Regions from separate parts of the Homo sapiens genome. Here all the other regions are linked to region 2. The links are contacts of gene promoters, found by promoter capture Hi-C in blood cells and fetal thymus (Javierre and others, 2016). All regions are on one chromosome and are shown on one strand. The core of a region is centred on a gene start or on the middle of the fragment in contact, and the rest is flanking DNA. Distances in the headings are between cores, read along the strand shown.

What was found. Contacts are between HindIII fragments. The CHiCAGO score rates a contact against its expected background, and 5 or more counts as called.
Region 1: a contact is called between a fragment that was not itself captured here and the fragment with the promoter of ALOX5AP in region 2, in 3 of 17 cell types (neutrophils, naive B cells and fetal thymus). The highest score is 10.3, in neutrophils.
Region 3: a fragment that was not itself captured here is called in contact with the fragment with the promoter of ALOX5AP in region 2 in 1 of 17 cell types (naive B cells); the score reaches 5.5 in naive B cells.

The regions. Positions count from the first base shown.
Region 1 is chr13:30,463,781-30,466,969 of GRCh38, reverse strand. It overlaps HMGB1 (high mobility group box 1), which reads left to right and starts at 1,034. Exons shown (of 5, transcript NM_002128.7): 1 at 1,034-1,174. RefSeq lists enhancers at 75-850, 851-1,626 and silencers at 1,062-1,371, 1,971-2,610. The HindIII fragment of the contact is 4,528 bases long and covers 1-3,189 here.
Region 2 is chr13:30,734,216-30,737,402 of GRCh38, reverse strand. ALOX5AP (arachidonate 5-lipoxygenase activating protein) reads right to left here and starts at 1,860. Exons shown (of 5, transcript NM_001629.4): 1 at 1,728-1,860. The coding sequence starts at 1,797. All of the region lies in intron 2 of LOC124903146 (a long non-coding RNA gene), which reads left to right. The HindIII fragment of the contact is 8,013 bases long and covers 139-3,187 here.
Region 3 is chr13:30,240,597-30,243,996 of GRCh38, reverse strand. It overlaps KATNAL1 (katanin catalytic subunit A1 like 1), which reads left to right. Exons shown (of 11, transcript NM_032116.5): 5 at 2,911-3,038. LOC102723381 (a long non-coding RNA gene) reads right to left here. Exons shown (of 4, transcript XR_007063741.1): 3 at 2,675-2,743; 4 at 2,080-2,389. Among named protein-coding and RNA genes, the nearest start is that of KATNAL1, 65 kb to the left of the region's middle. The HindIII fragment of the contact is 1,171 bases long and covers 759-1,929 here.

The sequences.
Region 1 (3,189 bases), core at 585-3,084, 270 kb after region 2:
AACTCCTGTAATCCTAGAGCAGTTACATGGATGCACTAAGTGGTGTGATGGGAGGGAAAGATAGCATCACAAGGATTCGTTTGATTGTAACAGTAATCCACACCAAGTCAAATAAAATAGCCAAACAGTTTAGAATGTGGTCTCTAATGAATTTGCTAATTCTACCAGGGCCTCACAAACATTTCCTGCTAGAGTACCCCATATCAAACCAAGTGGCTGTTCTTTAATTACATGGAATAATTATTTGATTTCCAGGAAGTTAAGACAGTGCTTTGTATTTAAATAAAAAGTTCTAGACATGCTGTGAAACTCGATCAAACCAAGAAAAAGGGTGAAACTGAATGCCTGCTCACTGACTCAAGATTTCAGCTGCTCAGCGAGCCTGACGTGACGGCTTATGAGCCCAGAAAAGGGGTATTTTAAACCCGGCTGGCTGGATCATGTCACTTTCTTATAGAAGCCCTGCCTTTCCAGAGACCTAAAGTGTAACGCAATCAGAGACCTTTGAGGGGCTCGAGGCTCGGCGGCTTCCGCCCCTCAGCACCAGCAGAGACCCCAGTTTTCAGGGGACATGATCCCATAGTGTCGCCCTCACTTTTGAAGGGCCATTAAAAGCCTGGGGCCTCTTATCTCAACGGCTTTGGGCGTGAATGTGGGGCAAGAAGGGGGGGGGAGACCTGTGGGTGTCTCTTTTGCCTGAGGAGTTGGAGACACTTGTGGAAAAGTCAGGCCCTTTTCGCTCCGGCGGCCGCTCCGGTGTGGGGCTGGCTTGGGTTAGACACATGCACACATACACCATAGAGCTCTGCTTTCCCGTAGCAGCTGCTGCCTCTGCCTCTGCCTCTCCCGCCTCAGCCTCTTTGCCCGGCATACACACACATTCAGATTTGCGCGCTGTTTCAATCCTTGATGACGTGTCCCCGGAGACAGCCAATAGCAAACGGGCTCTGGTCAGGACAATGGGAGGTATCGGGCCAATGAGCGAGCCCCGTGAGTTGGCGGTAGCCAATAGGAGCCGCGCTGGCTGGAGAGTAATGTTACAGAGCGGAGAGAGTGAGGAGGCTGCGTCTGGCTCCCGCTCTCACAGCCATTGCAGTACATTGAGCTCCATAGAGACAGCACCGGGGCAAGTGAGAGCCGGACGGGCACTGGGCGACTCTGTGCCTCGCTGAGGGTGAGTCTGGGGCAGCGCCGCGGCGGGGAGAGCGCCTCCGGCAGCTCCCCAGCCCGCGCGGCGGCCGGATCCCCGCGGCCGGGAGCCGGCGGGTCAGGATCCACACAAAGGCAAATGAGGGGGGACCGTGGGGGGAACTGCGCACGGAGCGAGCCTCTGCCCGGGCGCCGGGAACGCTGCCCCGCGCCGGTGCCCCGGCCCTCAGGCAGCCTGAGGCGCCGGGAGCCCCGCGCCCCGCGAGTTTCCACCCCCGGCGGCGTCCGCGCTGACTGGCGCAAAAAAAAAAATTTTTTTTTTAATTAAAAAAATTTTGAACGTGTTTTGGGCCCTCGGGCCGGGCGTTCGGGCGGGCGGCGTGCGCGGAGCGCGGCCGGGGCGGCGGGGCCGGCGCGGCTCGGCGGCGGCGGCGGGAGGGCAGCGGCGGCGCTTCCCCGGGCTGCATTGGCCGCCGCCGCAGCGAGCCGGGCGCTGGCGGGGAGCGCGGCCAGCCGGGCGGGCGGCGGGGCGGGCGGGGCGCCGCGGCGGGCGAGGGCGGCGCGGGGGCCTGGGGGCGGCAGTGCGGGCCCGGCCGGCCTCGGCCCGGTCGCGGCGGCGGCGGCGGCCGGGCGGCGGGGGGAGCGGCGCCGCTGCGCTCGCTGGAACATGGCTGACTCGGGCCCGGCGCTGCTGGCTGGAGAGAAAACAAGGCGGGCGGGCGGGGGAGCTGGGCGCAGCAGTTCCGAGGCAACTTTTTTTTTCCTCTCTCTTTTCACAGCCCCGCGTTCTCCGTGCGGGGGCGGCGGGGCGCGCGGCCCGCGCGGAGGGAGACGGGGAGTGGCGGGCGGGTGGGCCCTCGGGCGGCCCCCACCGCGGCGGGGGGAGGGGAGCGGCGCGGAGGGGAGGGCCCGGCCGCGCGCCCCCCGCCCCTCCCCCGGCCGTAATGGCCGAGTGTGTGCGCCAGAGCGCGGCTCGCACCCCGCCCGCCGCCGCCGCCGCGCCCGCACCCTCGCACTCACACACTCTCTCATACACACACACACACACACACACACACAAAGGGAAGGAGCCATATTCTCGCTCGCGCTCGCCCTCGCGGCGGCGGCGGCGCAGGCGGAGAAGACGCGCAGCGGCCATTCCGTGCGCGCCGGCCCCGGCGGCCGCGGGCGGAGCCAGCCCCCATTTCGAGCGGGGCTTCTCCCTGCGCCGAGCCTGACAAAATGGGGGCGGCGGCGGCGCGGGCCTGCAGGGCCTGCCGGGCGCACGTGGCGGCCTCGGGCCTGGGAGCCGGGCCGCGTCCTCTCTCCTCGGCCGCGCGGCCACCGGCGAAGTTCTAGGGGCGGGGGGCTCGCCCCGCGCAGGAGTCACCCCAACTTTCACGGCTCCAAAAAATACTTCCCGAGTTGGGGGAGGGGGCCACCGAGCCACGAGCAGGAGTGGCTTTTGTCCCTCATCCTTGTTTACTCGGAGAAACTTCAGACCGGACGTGTTTAGTCAGAACAGAAATACATCTCAGGGCCAAACCGATAGGAAACGAGGCTGCCTCGCGGTGGCACCGCCACCCCCCAACCGGGTTCCGAGCACCGGAGCTGGCTGCTGCTCCCTCTTTGGAGCAAAGTTTTATGCAAAGAGGGTGTTTTTTGAAACTTTCGGTGCACGGTGATTTTTTTTTTTTAAGGTCCCATAATTAGGAAGAGTCGACTCGCTTAGGCCCTTGTTTATTCCCTATCTAGTGCAAAGCCACGAATTGGCAGCATGTTTTCTGACCTTTGGTTTGGTTGGTTTAAAATGGTGTTCTAGATTTTAAAATCGTTTAAGTGACCAGTTAGATACTCATTCAGAGCAGACTCGGGCGGATAGATAGGGAATACTGTATGGGTATATCTTTGTGTCTAGACTTTTTGAGATCGCCCTGAAGGACTGTTTTTGTTTTGTTTTGTTTGCTTGGCATAGCCCCTTCAAGGAATTTAATCTCTCGGCCATATTCTTGTCTGATTTTACGGAGGTTGATGTCGCTACTGTGTTAAATAACCAGTACT
Region 2 (3,187 bases), core at 611-3,110:
TCAATCTGAACAGGGTTTGCTAGACCATGATGGCAAAGTCCAGGAGAAAGCCCTGGGCAGAGCAGGGCCAGTTCCCTGGTGCACCTCCATTAGGAGAGGTGAGGAGAACCTGTCCTTGAAACAGAGAGCTCTGAAGCTTCCCACAGTTCAGCTCTGAATTGAGAGGGAGCTGGAGAGAGTGAGCTCAAACTTCGTAGCTGGGTTCAGCCCCAACTGCACAGGCAGGGAGGGGGCACAAGGTCCCCTGTCCACCGATGCTCCTCAGTTTTATTGATGGGTGTCAGGGGAGAGGCCAGAGGGGAGATCCTTCCAGAGCTGAATAAGTGCTAGCCACCTGCCCACCCATACAGCTACCTTTGCAGAGACTGCAGGCATTGCTGCAGGCTGACCTGTCCATCACTGTAGCTGTTTTGTTTCCTGCTCTATCCGCCTGTACCCAGAATACTATCTGGGCCAGAGCAGGGTCTCTGTACATGTATGCGGGTTGAATAATGGAATCCTTGCCAATTTACAGGGCCAAGGGAGCCCTGTGTGAAATCATAATGGCTCAAGAAAATGGTGGCCTAAATAAGCCATTTGTTCCCTCTCTGAGCTACAACTTTGTTGTGTGTAATTTAGTATAAAAATGTTTGGGTCAGAAAGCCACAAAGTGTAGTTCTTGTAGAAAACATACTTGGAGTGTGTGAAGCTGAGCCTTTCTGGTGCAGAGGCTGAGGGGGAGGCTTGCTCTGTGCCCAGAAGGCTACATCACCAGCATCTGTCCACACTCAAGATGGGGGAAAATAGAATATCCCAAAGTGATTAAATACTCAAAGTTCCAAAAACGTGACAGCATGTCAATGTTCAGTAATCACCATAAAGCTACAGCAGCTGCCCTTAGTAATTACTCTTTTTTTCTCTATCTTAATAAATATAAAACACAAAGCCACTGGAGATAGTTATGAAAGTGGTCTGAGGCAGCCCTAACTCAGAACTTTAGGAAGACAGCTCTACACAATTCTCCCTTTTCCAGATCTAGGTATCCTGCTTGTTTTTTGTTGTTGTTGTTGTTTTTAACTAATAGCAGGAATAATGGAAATGCAAACGCTGAACAGGACAATTTTCCTCTCTCTCTCTCTCTTTCTGAAGTATACACTGCATATGAAAAATGCTTCCAAAATTATACGTGCTAGAGAAAAAGAAGGTATCACCAAAAAAAAAAGTTTCTTCAGGAGAAAAAAAGAAAAAAGTAATATAGAGGAAAAATAATAAGATGATTTTTTCTACGCACCTCCCAAAATCACTTTCTTTTTAGACTGCAGATGACTGGTAACTTCAATTGCACTGCAGATGTTAGAAAAGCCCAGTATCTGAGTAAATGTGTATATCATGTTCCCTTTCTAGTCTTCTCACCTTCCACCCCTTGCCTGGCCACATTAATTAATAGTTAAAATGCTGATCATAGACACTTCGGTGAGGGTTTTAGCAAAACCTTCAAGTTGCAGCCCTGGCTCTAAAAATGGGACTGGTAATCACCACAAAAGTGAAAGACTAAGAGGAGGAAAACCCCAAATTTACACAGAAATACACACAACCCTATACATTCAAATAAAAAGAAGAAAATAAAGATAAGGTAAAAGTGTTTGTGCATGCGCACACACAGACACAATTGTTTAAGCCTGACTTCCAAACAACCATCAAAGAAAATCTCCCCTTCTGTTCTTCCCTGAGTGAAGGGCTTTCCTTACCATTCTGGACCACGCTGATGAGGGTGACGATGGCCAACAGGACAACATTGCCTACAGTTTCTTGATCCATGTTTGCTTCAGGCTCCCCAGAGAGGACTGCTCTGCCTCCAGCTGCACAACCTGCCCTGTACAGGAAGGGGAAGTGAGAGCTTGCACTCTTTCATCATTACAATTTCTGAAGATCCCCGGCACAATTACACAGTGCCTTCTTCTTCCTTTTTTTTTTTTTTTTTTTTTTTTTAACTAACCACCAAAATGCCCTGGCTGTGGTTCAGTGTGTCCCACCAGGAGAAGCAGGGCTTGGCAGAGGAGCACGCAAAGCCAGCACACTCTCCTACATTTCCTTGTCATGGGAAACTTCCCTGAGAGTCTCCAGAATGAATCCTGGACCCAAGACCATGACCAGCACGAGCCCAGCACAGGCACCAGAGAATCTGGAAGCTGCCATCATCTCTGACTTCAGCAAAGAGAAAGAAGGGAAAGTAAACCCAAAACTTTCAGGTCAGACAGAGTGGCATAAACCTGTAACCCCAGCATTTTGGGTGGCTGAGGTGGGAAGATTGCTTGGGCCCAGGACTTTGAGGCTACAGTGAGCCAATGATTATGCCACTGCACTCCAGCCTGGGCAACAGAGCAAGACTGTCTCACACACACACACACACGCACACACAAATGTAAAATGAAACTTTAAAAAAATGTATAGAACACCAAAAGATCTGTGCCCCAAATACTGTCCTTCTTTTTTTGAATTCCAAGAAAAAAAGTGAACACTTAACACACGGTAAGTAGCAGCCACATAAGGTTTGAATGAAGGAAGGAATAAATGGCAGTGGGGAGGGACAGCTGATATCTCCATTTCTTCAGAGAAAAGTAATAAAGGGAATTCATAAATTAAACCAAAGAATTCAAACCAAACCAAAGAATTCAGGTAAAAGGCAGAAATGGAGTTACAGATGATCCCTAAGGGAAATTCCCAAAGGGAACTGACTTTTCTGAGGCAATCGCAGAAACACCTTCCTGGAAATTCTTTTCAACTGAATAAGAGTAGAGTGGCTGTGCTTTCTGAGAAAGTATAAGAGTGGACCTGCTGGGTGGGTGAGGTGGCTGCCTGGTATTCTGCAGCTCAGATCAGTGTGAATGGCAATCCCTCTGAGGTTACATGGAAAATGCAAAATACCTGCAATCTTTGTCCCAGACTTAGCTATTTGGCATTGGTTAAGAGGTGCTTTTATCAAAACTTCACTTTGAAAGGGAACATGGACCACTGTAACTAGTGGCAGCAGGGAGGGCTGCATCTCGGCACGGAAGAGGTCAGTGTAGGGGAAGATATTGCTCCCTCATAGGTACAGTGCCAGAGGCCCGCTTCAATGCCCTCGGTTCAGCTGAGAGAGAAAGGCTGATGAAGGCAGCGTGCAGAGTTGTGTGCGGGGAAGCCAGCAGCCAGGGCTGTCGGGCTGGTC
Region 3 (3,400 bases), core at 95-2,594, 490 kb after region 2:
TATGGAACAAACCTGCACGTTCTGCACATGTATCCTAGAACTTAAAGTATAATTTAAAAAAAAGAAAAATAATGAGATTTCCAAGAAATTTTGCACTTTCCTTGGGCCATTGAAATCAGGCAACAGATGAATAAATTAGGCAAGTGAGAGGCAGTGGCTTTACAGGAAAAAGATCAGCTATAATTAAGCTTAGACATCCGTGTGACTATGACCCAGTGATTTTTATTACTAATTGGCCAGTAATTTCCGATGCGTGGTAGCTTACTACCTAATGAGTTGATTCGTCTGTTGGACAGAATCTATTGTTAGAAAATTCTTTCTTTTGCTGATCTGAAATCTATCTCTTTTGTTACTGGCCCTTGCTTTTTTTTTTTTTTTTTTTTTTTTTGGCTTAATACCTAGTAGGCCTGTTGGTTGTATTGCCCCATTAGAATTTACTTCTTCAGCTTAAATGTCTCTAGTTTCCTTGGTCTTCCTCCATATGACATGGGTTTTGAACCCTTTATCATCTTGATTATTCTTCCCTGGGTGTAATTTATCAGTATTTCTCTTAAAATGCAAGACCCAGAGCTAGTAACTGATCATGTTTTACTTAATCTGCCAGTGTGAGAGGTTGCATAGTAAAATGTAAGAAACATTTGCATTTTAGGGCAAACTATATCATTAATTGGCTCTGTAATATTTGGTTAGTCACTTTGAGCCTAATTTTCCTCAAATAGAAGATTATCCAACACTAATGAAAGATGAGTAACAAAGCTTTCTTGATATGGGAAATTTTGATGTTAGTAAAAAGAAGCTAAAATATTTTGCTTTCATGAGAAAAAAAGTATATCAACCTTCATGCTAAAAATCAAATTCTTGCTAATGTTGACCTTAGTCAACTCATATGAAAATCTAAGGAAAGAATTCTAAGATCATTTCAGTGACATTGCAGTTAGTAGTATTTATGTACACTTAGTAATATCTTGGAGAGGTTAGCTTTATTTCCTTTAACTAATAGTTTCCTTTAGGTATTGCATTTAATCTAGCTGTTTATATTTGATGTCTGTATTCTAATTTAAGTATTTTTTATGAAGAATAACTGTCACCCATTTTACTGATTTCCTGGCATAACCAAATTAATTTTAGTTTTCCTATGTCTGTTTTTTATAACCTCACCATTTTGATTTGAAAACGTTTCCAGAATCTTTTTTGTAGTCCTCGATCGGTATTCAAGTCTCATGTGTACCACTGAGAAACTTTGGGTTCTCGGGCAGGTCATTTAACTGGCCTATACACACACTTCTTCTTCAGTGTAGTGAGAGGCTTTTAGTTCTTTGATTCTCCTCCTCTACCCCGTCCTCTATAGGAGCCAGAAGAAATCCAAACTCACCTCTGCCCATATCTTCAACCTCTTTCTTCTGCGCAATACATTTTATTATACTGGCTACTCAGGTTTTTTCACAGCACTTCACAGTTTATGTGTGTTTTTGCTTTATTTACTTGTTACTCGTTTCCCCCACTAGACTAGATGCTTGATGAGGGCAGATAATGTATTTTCATTCACTGCTCTAAAACCTAATGCACAATAGCATGTATTGCACGTAGAAGATGCCCAAATATTTACTGTTTTTAAAATCCTATGATACTCCTATTACTTTCAGATAGGCATGCAGCTTTTTCTTTCTCCTGAGGTAGTGTTTATTAAGTTCTTTCCAGCCACTTGGACATTCATATTAAAATGAAATTTTAATTTTAACTTGATAAGTGTAAATTACAGTGCCATATGAAGGCTCAAGCTCCAGATATGTCAGTTTCTGTTGTATTCTTTCGTTGATACGTTTCTAGAATAGTTTTTAAATGATTACAGAATGTTCCTAGTGATTTGTTTGAATATGACTTGGTAGCCTTGGCCTATCTGTACTATAAAATTTGACTCTAGCCTAAGCTTAAGTTTGTTGATGTTATGTTTCTTGTGTAGGTGCCAAAAATTTACTCCTTTTAATATTGTCAGTATTGATATCTGTCATCTGGAATGCAAGAATCTTCGGGAAAATTTACTAATAAATTTAATGCTACCGCCATACTGCCCAGAAATAATTTATTTTTTTGGGTGAAGTACCAGAATACTGTTTGGTCACTTACCTAGTGGCTTGAAGGAACCAGAGCATCTGTCCAAGGGAGCCATTTAGTTTCCTCCAGCACTTATGATTGAGCCTTTTGACTATCTCAGAAGTGGGATTGGAGAAGTTTGTCTTGTTCTCTTGTCTCTTTTCCGGTTGAAGTTTAGGAGATTGACTCATTTTGACCATTTTCTTGTTTTGTTTTTACTCTAGGCAGTAACTGGGGCTAAAGCTCTGGGGAGGCACTTGGCTGTGCTTGCTGAAGTATTTCCATAGTTGGACTGTCTCTGGCAAATAAGTGAATTTCATTTAAAGCTCGTCAAAGCTGTGTGAATCTTGGCAGAACCCCATAGAAACCATAGCATAAAATTTCTTTTAAAACAACTATATTATTAAATGAAGAATTTGGGGTAAAGCATATTGCTTTAATGGTCTTAATACTATTTAAAAAGATCCTTCCACATTAATATTCAAAATGTTTTCTAGTAGTGGTGGAAATCCTCTGCGTCTACCAGTTCAAAGGTAGGCTTTCCCAGTCTTTTGGGATCTAGCAAGGATCAGTTTAGTCTTACCTGCATGCAACTGTTCCTGCAAGAATGTAGATTTGAAGTTTTTAATAAAGTTGACCAGTTCATGTATTTCTGATGAATTAAATAGAGGAGAATGGCATTTGAGTAATCAGAAAATACTACCTTAAAATAATAAAAATTATTTAGAAAGTGATGGCATTATAATGTTTTCAAAGCGTAATGATGTTAACTAAATTATCCATTACTGACTAGTACTTTTTTTTTATACCTATCCCCAGGGAAGGAAGAATATGCAAGATGGTGCAAGTGATGGTGAAATGCCAAAATTTGATGGTGCTGGTTATGATAAGGATCTGGTGGAAGCCCTTGAAAGAGACATTGTATCCAGGAATCCTAGCATTCATTGGTTAGAGTCTTTCAAATTATTGAATTAAAGTAGAGGAGAACACAAATTATAGGTTGTCTTGGTGTGTGAGTTTTCTCTTGTTATTCATTAATCTGATTATGACCACATCTATAATATGAAAGTATAGAATTGACGAGACAGTTCTGTCGAATGTAACCAAGGACATTTTACATGTTAATTTGAAGTTGATGTGTAACTGACAAGTTGTTAATTCAATGACATGTCCTCATTAATAACTAATGTTTTCACTGATCTTTTTATGCAGTAAGAATTAGAATAATGTTCTTACTATGAGAATAATTTCATAAGTAAAAAAAAATTAAAAGAATTAGTTTTGACCATAAATCAAAGATCCCTGAGTA